3 separate regions of the Homo sapiens genome follow, and regions 2 and 3 are each linked to region 1. Evidence: promoter capture Hi-C in human tissues and cell types (Jung and others, 2019). All regions are on one chromosome and are shown on one strand. The core of a region is centred on a gene start or on the middle of the fragment in contact, and the rest is flanking DNA. Distances in the headings are between cores, read along the strand shown. Region 1 holds the start of PKMYT1 (protein kinase, membrane associated tyrosine/threonine 1). Region 2 overlaps NAA60 (N-alpha-acetyltransferase 60, NatF catalytic subunit). Region 3 holds the start of PRSS27 (serine protease 27).

Region 1 (4,907 bases), core at 707-3,206:
GTAATCCCAGCATTTTAGGAGGCTGAGGTGAGTAAATCACCTGAGGTGAGGAGTTCGAGTCCAGCCTGGCCAACATGGTGAAACCCCATCTCTACTAAAAATACAAAAATTAGCTGGGTGTGGTGGTGCATGCCTGTAGTCCCAGCTACTCGGGAGGCTGAGGCAGGGGAATTGCTTGAACCTGGGAGGCAGAGATTACAGTGAGCCAAGATCATGCCACTGCACTCCAGCCTGGGCAACAGAGCGAGACTCTGTCTCAAAAAAAAAAAAAAATTTAATTGGATTGGACCGTGGAACACTTTATGCCCCAAGGTATTGTTTGTTTGTTTGTTTTTGAGACAGGGTCTCACTCTGTTGCCCAGGCTGGAGTGCAGTGGTATGATCTCGGCCCACTGCAGCCTCCGACTCCCAGGTTCAAGTAATTCTCTTGCCTCAGCCTCCTGAGTAGCTGGGATTACAGGCGTGTGCCAACACACTAGAATAATTTTTATATTTTTAGTAGAGATGTGGTTTCACCATGTTGGTGAGGCTGGTGCACCAAAGTATTATAAAAAACAATAGAGCGGCTGGGTGTGGTGGCTCACGCCTGTAATCCCAGCACTTCGGGAGGCAAGGTGGGTGGATCACTTGAGGTCAAGACTTCGAGACCAGCCTGGCCTACATGGTGAAACCCCATCTCTACTAAAGATACAAATTTTTGCCGGGCGTGCTGGTGCATGCCTGTAGTCCCAGCTACTCAGAGGCTGAGGCAGGAGAAATGCTTGAACCCAGGAGGTGGAAGTTGCGGTGAGCCGAGATTGCGGCATTGCACTCCAACTGGGCGACAAGAGCAAAACTCCATCTCAAAAAAATATACATAATAGTAAATAAAAAATTAAAAAGAGCAGTCTCCAGTACCTGAGGGAGTACAGGGGTGAGGGGAGCGATGCTACCTGGGCCTGGCTGGCAGGCTGCCCTCCATCTTGTGGAGACTCTTCCTCTGACTCTAACTACCTCAGAGTCCCAGCCCAGGGTTTCTCCAAGTCAGGAGCCAGGGTGTTGGGATCCTGGAGGTCACTGGTCACAAGCACAGCCTCCAGGCCCAACCCTGGCACACTCGGGGACCTGGGCCTGTGCATCTTAACCCAGTTCTCCCACCGTCCCTGCCCTACGACTTACGTTCTAGCATGACTGGCCTGGCCCAACAGCCTCAGTGGTGGGACGGGGGAGGCAGGAGCAGGGGCTCCCACGTGAATCCAGGGTGTCCCTGAGCTAAGGCCAGGCGGGGGTGACCTCCGCAGCTTCCGGGGCCCTGGGCGATCGGGCCGTCTCGCCTCACCCTCTCACCAGGCCCGACACATCTGCTGGCCACCTTTCCCGGTAGACGGTAAGTTCCTCCCAGGCAGGGCCGCGGCTGACTTCACTCCGTGGGTGTGGGGAAGCCCTGGCGAACAGAGCAGTGGACGGGCTGTCACGAGGGAAGAGGGGCTGTTGCAGAAGAAGAGAGGCTGTCCCGGGGCAGGGGCTGTCACGGAGGAAGGACTGTCACGGGGAGGGCGGCGGCGCGGGGTTGATGGACAGCAGGCGGGGTCTCCGGGAGGGGCGAGTAGGGCGGGACCGCCGCTGGGAAGGGGCTCGAGGCAAGGGAACCAGGAATTGGGGAGGACGGGAGGCAGGGGCTCGCGGGGGCGGGCCTGAGGGGACGCGAGCGGGCCGCCGGGGAGGCCTGAGGGGCAGGGGTAACGCAGACCTGGCGAGGCGGAGGGGAGCGGCGAGGTGGCCACGCCGAGGCCCCTCACGGCGGGGTCTGGGCTCACCTGGGGCGACTGGGCGGGGCGCGGGTCCGCGAGGGCCCAGATTCCGGGTCCGCGGAGGCCACGGGACCCCTCGGGTGGCTCAGCGGGCCGGAGTCTGCCGTCGACTGTTCCGGACGCCCGGGCGGAGGACTCCCGTGAGGGGGAACGGCCCGTGAACGCGCGCGGAGCTGCTCGCGCCAAAAATTCCAAACCGGCCTCGAGGCTCCTCCCCCTCCCCAGTGCAGCCCGTCAGGGGTGCCCGGGCTCCGAGGCTCCGCCCCTCGTGCTGCGTGCGCGCCGCCGAGCCGCCCCGCCGCTCACTGCGCAGGCGCACAGGATTCTCCGCGCTGGCCCGGGGCGTGGGTGGCGGCCTGGTTCTGAGTCGCTGCGCGGGGCTTCAGCCGCCCAGTCCCTGGGACGCCCACTGCCCTCCAGGCCTCGCACCCGACACCCACCGCCCTCGCTGGGCTGGCGTAGTGTTTGGGTCCATAAAAGGGACCGCCATCCCGGTGCTCGGAGCAGGCGTAGCCCCAGGGTTACTCCGGGTAGGACCAGGAAGTCCCTACGGCCTCCTGGGTCCCGGCACCCCCCTTCTCACTCCGGCCGTGTTCTGAACCAGGGTCGCGGTGGGAGGCCAGACGCACGACCCCCAACCCCTAGCGCACGGCTTCGGGAGCCAGAAAAAGCCGCCTCTTCCAGGAAGCTCTCCAGATAGGCAGGACTCTGCTTGGCCTGACCTCGCCTGCCTGCAGCTTCCCTGCCAACAGGCCTCAGATACTTTTTTTTTTTTTTTTAGACAGGGTCTCACTGTCACCAAGGCTGGAATGCAGTGGTGCAGTCCCCAGGTTCAGGCGGTTCTCCCAACCTCAGCCTGCCGAGTATGTGAGATCACAGGCGCGCGCCACCGCACTCGGCTCATGTATTTTATTTTTAGACAGGGTCTCATTCTGTTGTCCAGGCTGGAGTGCAGTGGGGCGATCTCGACTCACTGTAACTTCCGCCTCCCCCGCTCAAGCGTTCCTCCCACCTCAGCCTCCTGAGTAGCTGGGACCACAGGCGCGCGCCACCACACCCAACTAATTTTTGCATTTTTTTGTAGAGACGGTGTTTTACCATGTTGGCCAAGCTAGTGTCGAACTTCTGACCTCAAGCGATCCGCCCGCCTCGGCCTCCCAGAAGGCTGGGATTACAGGCGTGAGCCACCGCGATTGGCCGCAGGATCATAGTTCACTGCAGCCTCGAGCAGCCACTTCCGGGGCAGCTCCTCCATTCTCTGAGTTTGAGACTTGCTCTCAGCTCAGATCCCTTCAGCGCTCTCCTGGCTGAACGACCTTGGGAATGCACTGAGCCTTTCTGAGCTTCGGATTAGTCTCCTCTCCTGGAAAAAAAAAAACAGCTGAGGACGCTGGGATGATCCCCTAAAGTGATTAGCAGGGGCCCTCGCGGAGCAAGTCGGGCTAGGGATTGTTCCTTCCCTCACCGAGGGGCTCTTTATCTGTTTAACTGGGTGGGAGGAGTACGCTTCCGGCCAACCCTCCCCCAAACGCTGGCCTTCTCACTCTCACCTCTCCTTCCGCCTTATTTTTGCTATTGCCCTGATCTCTGTCCGATGTTCTATCTTTTGTTTGTGAGTTTACTTGTTGACTACCTGCTCCTTCTAGCCCTGGCCTCCAGAACCAGTCCCCCAAACCCTCCATCCTCCCCAAGTCTCTGACAGGTCATGGACTGCAAAGCTTCCCACCCATTCAGTTCCTGCACCCTCTGTAAACGTTCTGTGCATGGAGCAGCAGTGTGGGGGAGGAGAGGCTGGGATCCTGGCTGGGGGCGGCAGCCCACCTGCCTGCACCTTTCCTTGTCCTTCGCATCTCTGGCGGCTGTGCCCCAGTGACTCAGGCAGGATCCTTGTTGATGACTCCAGACTGGCCCCCAGGAGGCCTGGGGCACACACAGGCCCCTCCCCAGCTGCCTAGGGCTACCTCTGCCAGCCCCATCTCCCCAACAGGTCCCCTTCCAACCGCCCATTTTTTAAAGTCTGATTCACAATGATAATTAAAAAAAAAAAAAAAAAAGCATGGAAACACATGCTTCCGATGTAAATTTCACTGTGTGAGGAAAGGCTGTAATATAAATATATGTAAATGGAAATAAGTAGATGGAGCAGATAAGTGCGTGGTGTGAGGGAAACTAGGGCTGCGATCCTGCCTGCCCCAGTTTCTGCGTGTGTAAAATGGGGATAAAAATAATAGTTTTCTAGACTAGGCAACATAGCAAGGCCCTGTCTCAAGAAAGAAAAAAGAAAGAAAAGGAAGGGAAGAAAGGGAAAGAAAAAGAGAAAGAAAGAAAGGAAAGGAAAGGAAGGAAGGAAAGAAAGGGAGAGAAAAAAAGAAAAGAAAGAAGAAATAAAGCAGTGAGGCACAGTGGTACACACCTGTAGTCCCAGCTCCTCAGGAGGCTGGAGTAGGAGGATCACTTGATCCCTGGAGTTAAAGGCCGCAGTGAGGGCCGGGTGCAGTGGCTCATGCTGGTAACCCCAGCAGTTTGGGAGGCTGAGGCAGGTGGATCACTTGAGCTCAGGAGTTCGAGACCAGGCTGGCCAATATGGTGAAACCCCTTCTCTACTAAAAATACAAAAATTAGCTGGGTGTGATGGCAGGCGCTTGTAATCCCAGCTACTCGGGAGGCTGAGGCAGAATTGCTTGAACCTGGGAGGCAGAGGTTGCAGTGAGCCCACATCGCACCACTGCACTCCAACCTGGGTGACAAGAGCGAGACTCTGTCTCAAAAAAAAAAAAAAAAAAAAAGGCTGCAGTGAGCCTGGGCAACAGAGTGAGACCCTGTAAAAAATATAAAGTGATAATAATAGTAGTTCCTCCTTCCTCGGGGAGTATGAGCACCACATGAGAAAATGCCTGTGAAGTGCTTAGCACAGAGCCGAACACACAGTAGGGGCTTACTCATTGTTTCAGAATAACAGGCTGGGCGAGGTGGTCACGCCTGTAATCCCAGCAATTTGGCAGGCTGAGGCGGGCAGGTCACTTGAGCTCAGAAGTTAGAGACCAGCCTGGGCAATATGGCAAAACCCTGTCTCTACAAAACATTCAAAAATTAGCTGGGCATGGTGGTGTGTACCTG
Region 2 (4,907 bases), core at 1,574-4,073, 470 kb after region 1:
CACTATATGTTCAAGTAACATGTTTTAATCATCAAAATTTAAAAATCCTTCCACGACAATCTTTTGCAAGTTTTTCCATTTCTGTCTTTAACATGGTACCAGTAATAACAACTACAACCTGTTTGTATTGAAATTATTTCTATAGCCCAGCATCTGCTTTCTCTGAAAATTATCTTTTTAAAAATAGTAAAACTAACATCATTACAAAAGTAGTATATGTGCATTTCAGAAAGTTAGGAAAGGCTGGGTGCGGTGGCTCACGCCTGTAATCCCAGCATTTTGTGAGGCTGAGGTGGGCAGATCACAAGGTCAGGAGATCGAGACCATCCTGGCTAACACGATGAAACCCCATCTATACTAAAAATACAAAAAATTAGCCAGGCGTGGTAGCGGGCACCTGTAGTCCCAGCTACTCGGGAGGCTGAGGCAGGAGAATGGCGTGAACCTGGGAGGCGGAGCTTGCAGTGAGCCGAGATCACACCACTGCACTCCAGCCTGGGTGACAGAGTGAGACTCTGTCTGAAAAAAAAAAAAAAAAGAAAATACAGGGGAAAAAATGGCAACACATTCCTGTCACCCAGAGATCACCACTATTTACTCTTTATTATTTGTTTTTTTTTTTTTGAGACAGTCTCACTGTTGCCCAGGCTGGAGAGCAGTGGTGCGATCTCTGCTCACTGCAACTTCCGCCTCCTGGGTTCAAGTGATTCTTGTGCCTCAGCTACCAGAGTAGATGAGATGATGGGCAGATGCCACCACAACCATTTAATTTTTGTATTTTTAGTAGAGATGCAGTTTTGCCATGTTGGCCAGGCTGGTCTCAAACTCCTGGCCTCAAGTGATCCGCCCATGTCAGCCTCCCAAAGTGCTGGGATTACAGGTATGAGCCACCGCACCTGGCCTGCTCACTGCAACCTCCATCTCCCAGGTTCAAGCAATTCTTCTGGCTCAGCCTCCCGAGTAGCTGGGACTATAGGTGCGTACCACCACACCTGGCGAATTTTTGTATTTTTAGTAGAGGACGGGTTTTCCCCATATTGGCCAGGCTGGTCTCGAACTCCTGACCTTGTGATCTGCCCGCCTTGGCCTCCCAAAGTGCTGGGATTACAGGCGTGAGCCCCTGCCCCCGGCCCCTATTCTTAAGTATATATCTTTTCCCTAGTGATTTTTATGATGATGCAGCTGTATATTGAAACGGAAAGATACTCATTTTTGGGAGTAAAATTGGTTATGAAACAAAAACAATAACAAAGTTGCTTTTGAAGACTATGCGTTAAAATGGTAGTGGTAGTTATATTTTTAATTTTTATGGGTACATAGTAGGTGTATATATTTATGTGGTACATGAAATATTTTGATGCAGGCATGCAATGTGTAATCACTTCAAGGTAAATGGGGTATCTTCCCTGGCGATGTTTAACATGATTTCCAGAATGAATTGCTCACTACGTTTGGTGTGTTTTCCATTCCCAGATGGTACTGCCTTTTAAGGTCTATTACTTAAACATAAGTATGGCTCTGGTTCTTACCGCCTTTACCGTATCCTTCATGGGAAGTTGATACTGATCGGAAACTGACACAGAGCCTTCTCACCTACACTAAGGGGGCCTAGGTAAGCAAGATTATCTTTCTCCCAACTTCAGCAAGAGGTTTTCTTACTGGTGTTCAGAATGCTTGATTGAGCAGTTAGAAAACTGTTGCTACCTAGTCTCCAGTCTTATAAGGGGACAATGGCTGCAAGTCATGCCTGCAAGAACAAGAGGCTCACACAGTTTTGAAATTAGCACAACTTCTAGCTGGATAGGAGTCTTTTTAGTTTCATTTAGCCTTGAGTTGAAACTAATAGGAGTCTTTTAATTAGAAAAAAGCTCAGGGCTCTAAACGTACCTTCAACATGTTAATTCTGTTACCAAAAACTGGCTTGGTCTGTGTTAACTCCCAACAGAATTCTTTTTCAGTCACTGAGGCAGAGGTGCTTCCAGAGAAAGATTCTTGACCTACTCATACTGAATAATTATCGTTACTAGAAGCTGCAACCAAAGACTCCTGGAGGGTAGTAAGAGGTACAGAGAATGCAGGTTAGATACAGTGAGGACAGAGAAGAAAGGATGGGTTGGAGGCTGGGCGTGGTCACTCACACCTATAATTCCAGCTACTTTAGAGGCTGAAGCAAGAGAATCACTTGAGTCCAGGAGTTCGAGGCTGCAGTGAGCTAGCATTGTGCCACTGCACTCCAGCTTGGATGACAGAGCAAGACCTTGTCTCAAAAAAAAAAAAAAAAAAAACATGGGTTGCTTTGTAGTTTAGAGAACTACATGTTTAGATAGTTAATTTTTCCCCAAAAGGGCCCATCAGATTGATACTCTGAGATCCAGGGTTTGTCTGACACTCATTAGCCTATGAGTTGTAGAGATGGGATGGCCAGGAGTGAAGTGATGGCCTTGTGTCTTTCTCCCCTGCAGCATACAGAAAGGCTGTACCTGGAGGAAGGAAGTGCGGAGCCAGCCTGAGTTGGGAGAAGAGCTCCAGAGAGTGAGTCAAAGCGCTCTGTGTCCTGCTATTAATGATGCCCTCATAGTCAGAGGAAGCCTACTTAAGTGAAATCCATTTTTGACCTGTCAAGTATTAAATATTCTCTTAATTTTTAGTACTGAATGATAGAAGGCGCCTAGTGAAACAAATGCTTTCACTTTTTTGCTAGGAGGGTAAATGAGTATATTCTTACGTTAGGTACACAGGGATACAGTACAAGTATGCCAGCCTCTTTAAACTATAAAGAAGTAAACAAGATTTGGTTTAAGCATCAGTCTCTTGTGAGTCTGATGGGTAAGCCCAGTCTCAGGGCACACTGACAATGTTAGTGGAGAACGAGACTCTCCCAGTGTGCTGCCCTGACCCTCTGAGATTGGTCTGTGTAGCCACGTGGTGGTCATCCTGTGCCACCTCTGGTTTGGTTCTAATCAAAGGAAGCAGTATCATCTGTGGTGATCCGTCTTACACACTTGCATCATTTTATACCAAAGGAGAATTTCTTTTGTTAAAAATTTATTTTTCATTATCTACTCATAAAGAAGGAGCCAAAGGGCTGGGCGCAGTGGCTCACGCCTGTAATCCCAGCACTTTAGGAGGTGAGGCGGGTAGATCTCTGGAGGTCAGGAGTTCGAGACCAGCCTGCCCAACATGTTGAAACCCCATCTCTACTAAAAAATACAAAAATGTAGCCGGGTGTGCTGGGCGTGGTGGCTCACGTCTGTAATCCCAGCACTTTGGGAGGCCAAGGCAGGTGGATCATGAGGTCAGGAGATCGAGACCATCCTGGCTAACACGGTGAAACCCCATCTTTACTAAAAATACAAAAAATTAGCTGGGCGTGGTGGTGGGCACCTGTAGTCCCAGCTACTTGGGAGGCTGAGGCAGGAGAATGGTGTGAACCTGGGAGGTGACAGTTGCAGTGAGCCGAGATCACACCACTGTACTCCAGACTGGGCGACAGAGCAAGACTCTGTCTCAGAAAAAAAAAGAAAAATTTAGCCAGGCATGGTGGCGCCCAACTGTAGTCCCAGCTACTCGGGAGGCTAAGGAAGAAGAATTGCTTGAACTCAGGAAATGGAGGTTGCAGTGAGCTGAGATCGCACCACTGCACTCCAGCCTGGGTGACAGAGCGAGACCCCATCTGATATGGTTTGGCTGTGTCCCCACCCAAATCTCATCTGCAATTCCCATATATTATGGGAGGGACCCAGTAGGAGGTAATTGAATCGTGGGGCAGGTCTTTCCCATGCTGTTCTCATGATAGTGAATAAGTCTCACGAGATCTAATGGTTTTTAAAAAGGGGAGTTTCCCTGCACAAGCCCTCTTTTGTCTGCCACCATGTGAGACATGCCTTTTACCTTCCACCGTAATTGTGAGGCCTCCCCAGCCACGTGGAACTGTAAGTCCATTAAACCTCTTTTTTTTGTAAATTGCGCAGTCTCAGGTATGTCTTTATCAGCAGTGTGAAAACAGACTAATACATCGTCTCAAAAAAAGAGAAAAGAAGAAGAAGGAACTAAAGAAGAATTTCTTTGGAAGCAAAATATTTGGAAGCAAAATATTTGGCTCCTGACTGAAAGGGTTTTGATCCATGCATACATTAATAAACCCTTCAGAACCATGAGTTGGGATAATTCACTGTCCCTTGTGCTAGTCTCATGGAGCTTTTCTGCTCTTCTGGGAGTGCTCCTGGGGTGGTCTGGAGGCCTCTCAGGCAGAGCAGAGGCTGGTCAGCAAGCCACAGGGCTTGCCATGAAGTGGTTTGTTCATGATTTGTTTCTGGGACCCTGGGAAAAATGTTCTCAGGGTCTGCCTAGGAAGGCTGGTTTTGGAAGCTTGTGGATTTCTTTCTGGGTGAGTCAGGAAAGTTGTGCTCCTGCTGGGCGCAGTGGCTCATGCCTGTAATCCCAGCACTTTGGGAGGCTGAGGCAGGCGGATCACAAGGTCAGGAGATCGAGACCATCCTGGCTAACATGGTGAAACCCCATCTCTACTAAAAATACAAAAAATTAGCCGAGCGTGGTGGTGGGCACCTGTGGTCCCAGCTACTCGGGAGGCTGAGGCAGGAGAATGGTGTGAACCCGGGAGGCGGAGTTTGCAGTGAGCCGAGATCGTGCCACTGCACTCCAGCCTGGGCGACAGAGTGAGACTCCGTCTCAAAAAAAAAAAAAAAAAAAAAAAAAGAAAGTTGTGATCCAAGGGAAAGCATACAGGTTTTAATGATGAACTAGTTTGTTCCTTTGTCTCCTGGCTTTCATTCTTCATGGCATGTGCTCAGGGCAGCCAGTGGAGAGAGGCATCATTCTGCATGGTATAGAAGCCTTGGGTGGGTGTTTCATCATCTGTAAAATGAGGACAACAATACTGAACTTTC
Region 3 (4,907 bases), core at 616-3,115, 260 kb before region 1:
CCAGCCTGGAGTGCAGTGGCGCGATCTCAGCTCACTGCAAGCTCCGCCTCCTGGGTTCACGCCATTCTCCTGCCTCAGCCTCCCGAGTAGCTGGGACTACAGGGGCCCGCCACCAAGCCCGGCTAATTTTTTTGTATTTTTAGTAGAGAGGGGTTTCACCATGTTTGCCAGGATAGTCTCGATCTCCTGGCCCCGTGATCCGCCCACCTCGGCCTCCCAAAGTGCTGGCATTACAGGCGTGAGCCACCGCTCCCAGCCAAGTCCTAATCGTGATCTAGAGATCAAGGCCCAACTGAATGCTGCCTCCTCCAGGAAGCCTTCCTTGCTTGCTTGCATTGTCTACCTTGGAAGCCCTATACTCTCTCTTGAGCTCTCTGTCCTGATGGGAGCTCTGTCTACATCACCCTGGAGCCAGAATCAAGTCTTATCTTAGCCCAGGAGCTCCGAGAAGGCAAGGGCTGCATCTGGGGGGCCTGATCTCAGGGAATGTGTGGATGGACACAAGTGTGGCTGTGGGGGCTGATGGGAAATGGGGGATGTGGACAGCTGAGCCCTTCAGGGTGGGCGCCCTGTGGGGGCTGGAAGCAACAGCCAGGGGTGCCGGGGGTGTCAGGAGCATTGTTTGGGGCCTGGGCCTGTGATTCGCTGGTAGCTGGTGGGGATGGTGAAGCTTAGTGGGTACCACCAGCCAGAGACCTGGTGGGAGTGCCACCCTCGGGCTGGGAGTGAGGACGTGTCCAGGAGTCCAGCCTCTGGTCACAGCTGTTAGTGAACCGACTGCAAAACTCATTGCCAAAGAGTTTTGGCAATGACCTTGGTTCCTCACCCCGCTCAGGGGCAGTCACAGCCTTCCACCTCCTGTGCACATGGCTTGCTCAGAGGGCACCATCCTTGTGCTGGGAGACTGGGGGCATGGGGTGGGGGAGGCCGGGCCACTGAGGGGCCACTGGTGCCCTCCCACCCAGGAGAACAAGGAAGCCTGGAGTACTGGCTAAGCTGCAGCCTGGGATGACCTGACCCAGCCCTGGGAGGTGACTTGAGGACAGGGAAGTGTGGTGGCTGCCAGACTGGCTAGGCTAGCCCAGGAATGTGAGAGGTTTTCCCTGACAGAGAGTGTCCCGGCCCGCAGGGAGGGGCCTGGCAGGTGGGGCCCCCTGGCTGGCACCTGCTGTCCCTGACCCAGGACTGGGAGAGGGCACGGTGGCGCATCACCGGTTCCTCTGTCAGCAGGAGACAGGGCCCTCTGCCACCTACACCCCCTGCCCCCAGCTCTCTACTGAGCCTGCAGCCAGCCTGCTGGGGCTTCCGGGCACAGGCAGCAGCCCTCGGCTCGGCCACCCTCCCACCCCGAGTATGATGGTCCAGGCACTTGGAGCCTGAGTTCACATCCTGCACGTAGGAGGCCCCTGTCCTCACCTAGAGAATGGGGGGAGAGGCCGAGGTGGCAGGAAGCAGGGAGCCTGGCCAGAGCTGGCACACCAGTGCCCGCGGAGAGGCATGGGAGGAGGTGCTGCCCAGTTATGCCGGTGGGGTCCTCTGGGGCCTGTGCGCACACCTCCCACCCTGCCTCCCCACTTTGGACTCCCCACTTGGCACATCTGGAGCCTTCCCACCTGCTCAGGGGCAGGAGGGATGATGGCCTGTCCCACAGCCCCAGCCTGTCCCAGGGAGTAGGGGGCTGAGCCGGAGCCCCAGGCAGTGCAGCGGAGCCTGGTGGGGGACTGCACCACCAGGACCCTGCACCTTCACGACTCACCAAAACACAGCAGCAGCAGGAGCGGCACCGCCGCCGGCCGCCTCATGTCCTCAGGCCTGGCTGGGGCGCAGGGCCGTGGTCGGCGGTGGCAGAAGCGTTGGAGCACGAGCGAGGTGCAGGCTCCATGAAGTGGAGTTTTATGCTGGAGATGAGCACAGGCCCGGCTATGCGGCCCAACCCGTCGGCCCGGCCTGCCCAGCTCCTCTCCTCAGGAAGGAAGCGCCCAGAGCCGACTCCTCCGTGACCTAGCCCTGAACCCCGAGACCCCAGGGCAGACCCCTCACCCCAGCGCAGCACGGGGTGCCGTTGGCCTCGGTTCCTGGACCCTGAGCTGACCCAGACCCCCCAGCAGACCCCGAGCTGACCGCGGTGCACGCGAAGTCCGTCCAGCTTCATTCATTATTATTATTATTATTTTTTTTAATTTTTTGAGACAGAGTCTCGCTCTGTCGCCCAGGCTGGAGCGCAATCTCGGCTCACTGCAAGCTCCGTCTCCCAGGTTCAAGCCATTCTCCTGCCTCAGCCTCCTGAGTAGCTGGGATTACAGGCAGGTGCCACCACGCCCGGCTAATTTTTTGTATTTTTAGTAGAGACGGGGTTTAACCGTGTTGGCCAGGCTAGTCTCGATCTCCTGACCTCGTGATCCGCCCTCCTCGGCCTCCCAAAGCGCTGGGATTACAGGGGTGAGCCACCGCGCCCGGCCTCATTCAGTATTTTATTGAGCGCCGATGGAACACAGTGGGGCTGGGCCGCGCTGGTGGGAAAGTCAAGGCCAGGGGTGTTTGCGGGGCCGAGGGCAGGGGAGGCGATGGGACATGGGGCGGGGTCCGGAGTTGGCCGCAGCGACCCTCCTCCCGGGACAGCAGGCCCCAGAAGTTCCTCAGGCGCGCGCCAGCGCGGCCCAGGCGGCCGACCCGGGCCCCGGCTGCCATCCCTTGGAAGGGGCGGGGGCTTCCTGGCACCAGGCGGGGCGGAAGCGGCTCCGGGAAGGCCGGGCCGGGGTTACCGTTTCGGTGTCCCCGCCTGGCTCTGGGCGCGGCGCCGCGGCGGAAGAGGCTCGGGGAGGAAGTTATTTGGGGCACGGCGCTGACGTCAGAGACAGAGTGGGGCCGGGCCGTGGGGTCGGGGGCGCCGGACCTGTTTCCCCGCCGGCGCCGGGGGTCGGTACTCGCGGGCGGGGCGGGGCCGGGCGGCTCCGGGCGGGGCTGGGGGTGCGGCCGTTCCCGCCTCAGCCTTGTCCGCGCGCGTCGTGGTGCTGCCCTCTGGTGGGCGCGGGGCGCGGCGCGGGCGGCCAGGGGTGCAGAAGGGGCGCTCCCAGCCTCATGGTCCGGGCTCCGGCTCCCCGCATCGCCCTCCCTAGCCCCGCCCTCCCGCGTCTCCGCCTCCGCCTCCACCGCCTCCTCCCACCCTTCCCTCCCCGTCCAGTCCCTGGAGTTCCCGGGTCGGGGGTGGGAGGCGGGCTGGGCAGCCCCTGGGGGTCTGGAGGGAAGGAGGGAGGGCGAGGAGTGGGAAGAGGGGACTCCAAACGTATTCATTCATGTATTGATTTATTCATTCAGTCAGTCAGTCATTTCTGAGCAGATTTGAGCCCAATACTGTCCCCGGTTTGGGGAATACAAAGGTGACCCAAACAGACCTCACCTCAGTGTGAGAGAGAGAACATCATTTAGCAGAGAAATCTCTAATTATAAACCGCGACGGGCTGGGTGCAGTGGCTCACACCGGGAATCCCAGCACTTTGGGAGGCCAAGGCAGGCAGATCACCTGAGGTCAGGAGTTCGAGACCAGCATGGCCAACATGGTGAAACCCCGTCTCTACTAAAATACAAAATTAGCCGGGCTTGGTGGCGGGCACCTGTGATCCTAGCTACTCAGGAGGCTGAGGCAGGAGAATCACTTGAACTCGGGAGGCGGAGATGGCAATGACACGAGATTGCAACACTGCACTCCAGCCTGGGAGACAGTGAGACCCTGTCTCAAAAAAAAAAAAAAAAAAAGGAGAATAATAATTATCAACCACGGAAAGTGTTTCAAAGTGTCTGGGTGACCACATTTCTCCAGCACCCTATGGTCAGGTCACTGATGGGATCTCAGAGGCAGTCTTAGAGCCTCGCAGGTAACTATTTCCTCTTGGCACCTTTCTGTGTGTTCCTTGGTGTCTGCTCCCCAACCCTCCTTTTAAGCCCATTCCTCTAAGGGTGTCTCTGCCTTAAAATCAAGAAAGTGACAAAAGTCAAGATGCAGATCAGGGCCAGGTGCAGTGGCTCACGCCTGTAATCCCAGCACTTTGGGAGGCCGAGGCAGGCGGATCACGAGGTCAGGAGATCAAGACCGTCCTGGCTAACACGGTAAAATCCTGTCTCTACTAAAAATACAAAAAATTAGCTGGGCGCGGTGGTGGGCGCCTGTAGACCCAGCTACTCTGGAGGCTGAGGCAGGAGAATGGCCTGAACCCGGGAGGCGGAGCTTGCGGTGAGCCAAGATCTCGCCACTGCACTCCAGCCTGGGTGACAGAGCGAGACTCTGTCTCAAAAAAAAAAAAAAAAAAAAAAAAGATGCAGATCAGAAAGCGAGGACGCCAGGGAAACTTGGGCTCCTGAAGAACAAGGCACAGCCACGCCAGCGATTAGAGGATCGGGAACCCAGACCTCGCCTCCATGTCCCTGTACCTGGAGCCCACGGACCCAGGGCTGAGAATGGGCCCCTTCCTCATACCACCCACCAAACAAATGAAGAGGGCATTACAATCCAGAAAGATTTTTATGTTTTGTTTTGTTTTGTTTTGTTTTGTTTTGTTTTTTGAGACACAGTCTCGCTCTGTTTCCCAGGCTGGAGTGCAGTGGCACGATCTCGGCTCGCTGCAACCTCTGCCTTCCAGGTTCAAGCGATTCTCCTGCCTCAGCCCCGCTAGTAGCTGGGATTACAGGCCTGTGCCACCATGCCCAGCTAATTTTTGTATTTTTAGTAGAGATGGAGTTTCGCCATGTTGGCCAGGCTAGTCTCGAACTCCTGACCTCAGGTGATCCACCCGCCTCGGCCTCCCAAAGTGCTGGGATTACAGGCATGAGCCACCATGCCCGGCCATGTTTTTAAAATAATCAGTCCCTCCCTTCAAAAATAGAATTGGGGCGGGGTGCCATGGCTCATGCCT

Evidence for each region. Contacts are between HindIII fragments. The study calls those that stand out against the background at their distance.
Region 2: a contact is called between a fragment that was not itself captured here and the fragment with the promoter of PKMYT1 in region 1, in 3 of the 25 tissues and cell types used here (dorsolateral prefrontal cortex, lymphoblastoid cells and spleen).
Region 3: a contact is called between the fragment with the promoter of PRSS27 here and the fragment with the promoter of PKMYT1 in region 1, in 4 of the 25 tissues and cell types used here (dorsolateral prefrontal cortex, lymphoblastoid cells, mesenchymal stem cells and 1 more).

Annotation. Positions count from the first base shown.
Region 1 is chr16:2,978,490-2,983,396 of GRCh38, forward strand. PKMYT1 (protein kinase, membrane associated tyrosine/threonine 1) reads right to left here and starts at 1,957. Exons shown (of 9, transcript NM_004203.5): 1 at 1,797-1,957; 2 at 1,159-1,423. The coding sequence starts at 1,168. RefSeq lists enhancers at 647-1,523, 1,524-2,399, 2,400-3,276, 4,321-4,822 and silencers at 1,691-1,920, 1,931-2,290. The HindIII fragment of the contact is 14,611 bases long and covers 1-4,907 here.
Region 2 is chr16:3,446,009-3,450,915 of GRCh38, forward strand. It overlaps NAA60 (N-alpha-acetyltransferase 60, NatF catalytic subunit), which reads left to right. Exons shown (of 8, transcript NM_001083601.3): 2 at 2,463-2,532. Among named protein-coding and RNA genes, the nearest start is that of NAA60, 4.8 kb to the left of the region's middle. The HindIII fragment of the contact is 7,237 bases long and covers 1-4,907 here.
Region 3 is chr16:2,718,359-2,723,265 of GRCh38, forward strand. PRSS27 (serine protease 27) reads right to left here and starts at 1,866. Exons shown (of 6, transcript NM_031948.5): 1 at 1,757-1,866. The coding sequence starts at 1,802. RefSeq lists an enhancer at 2,136-2,703 and silencers at 2,437-3,196, 3,327-3,396, 4,080-4,249. The HindIII fragment of the contact is 19,281 bases long and covers 1-4,907 here.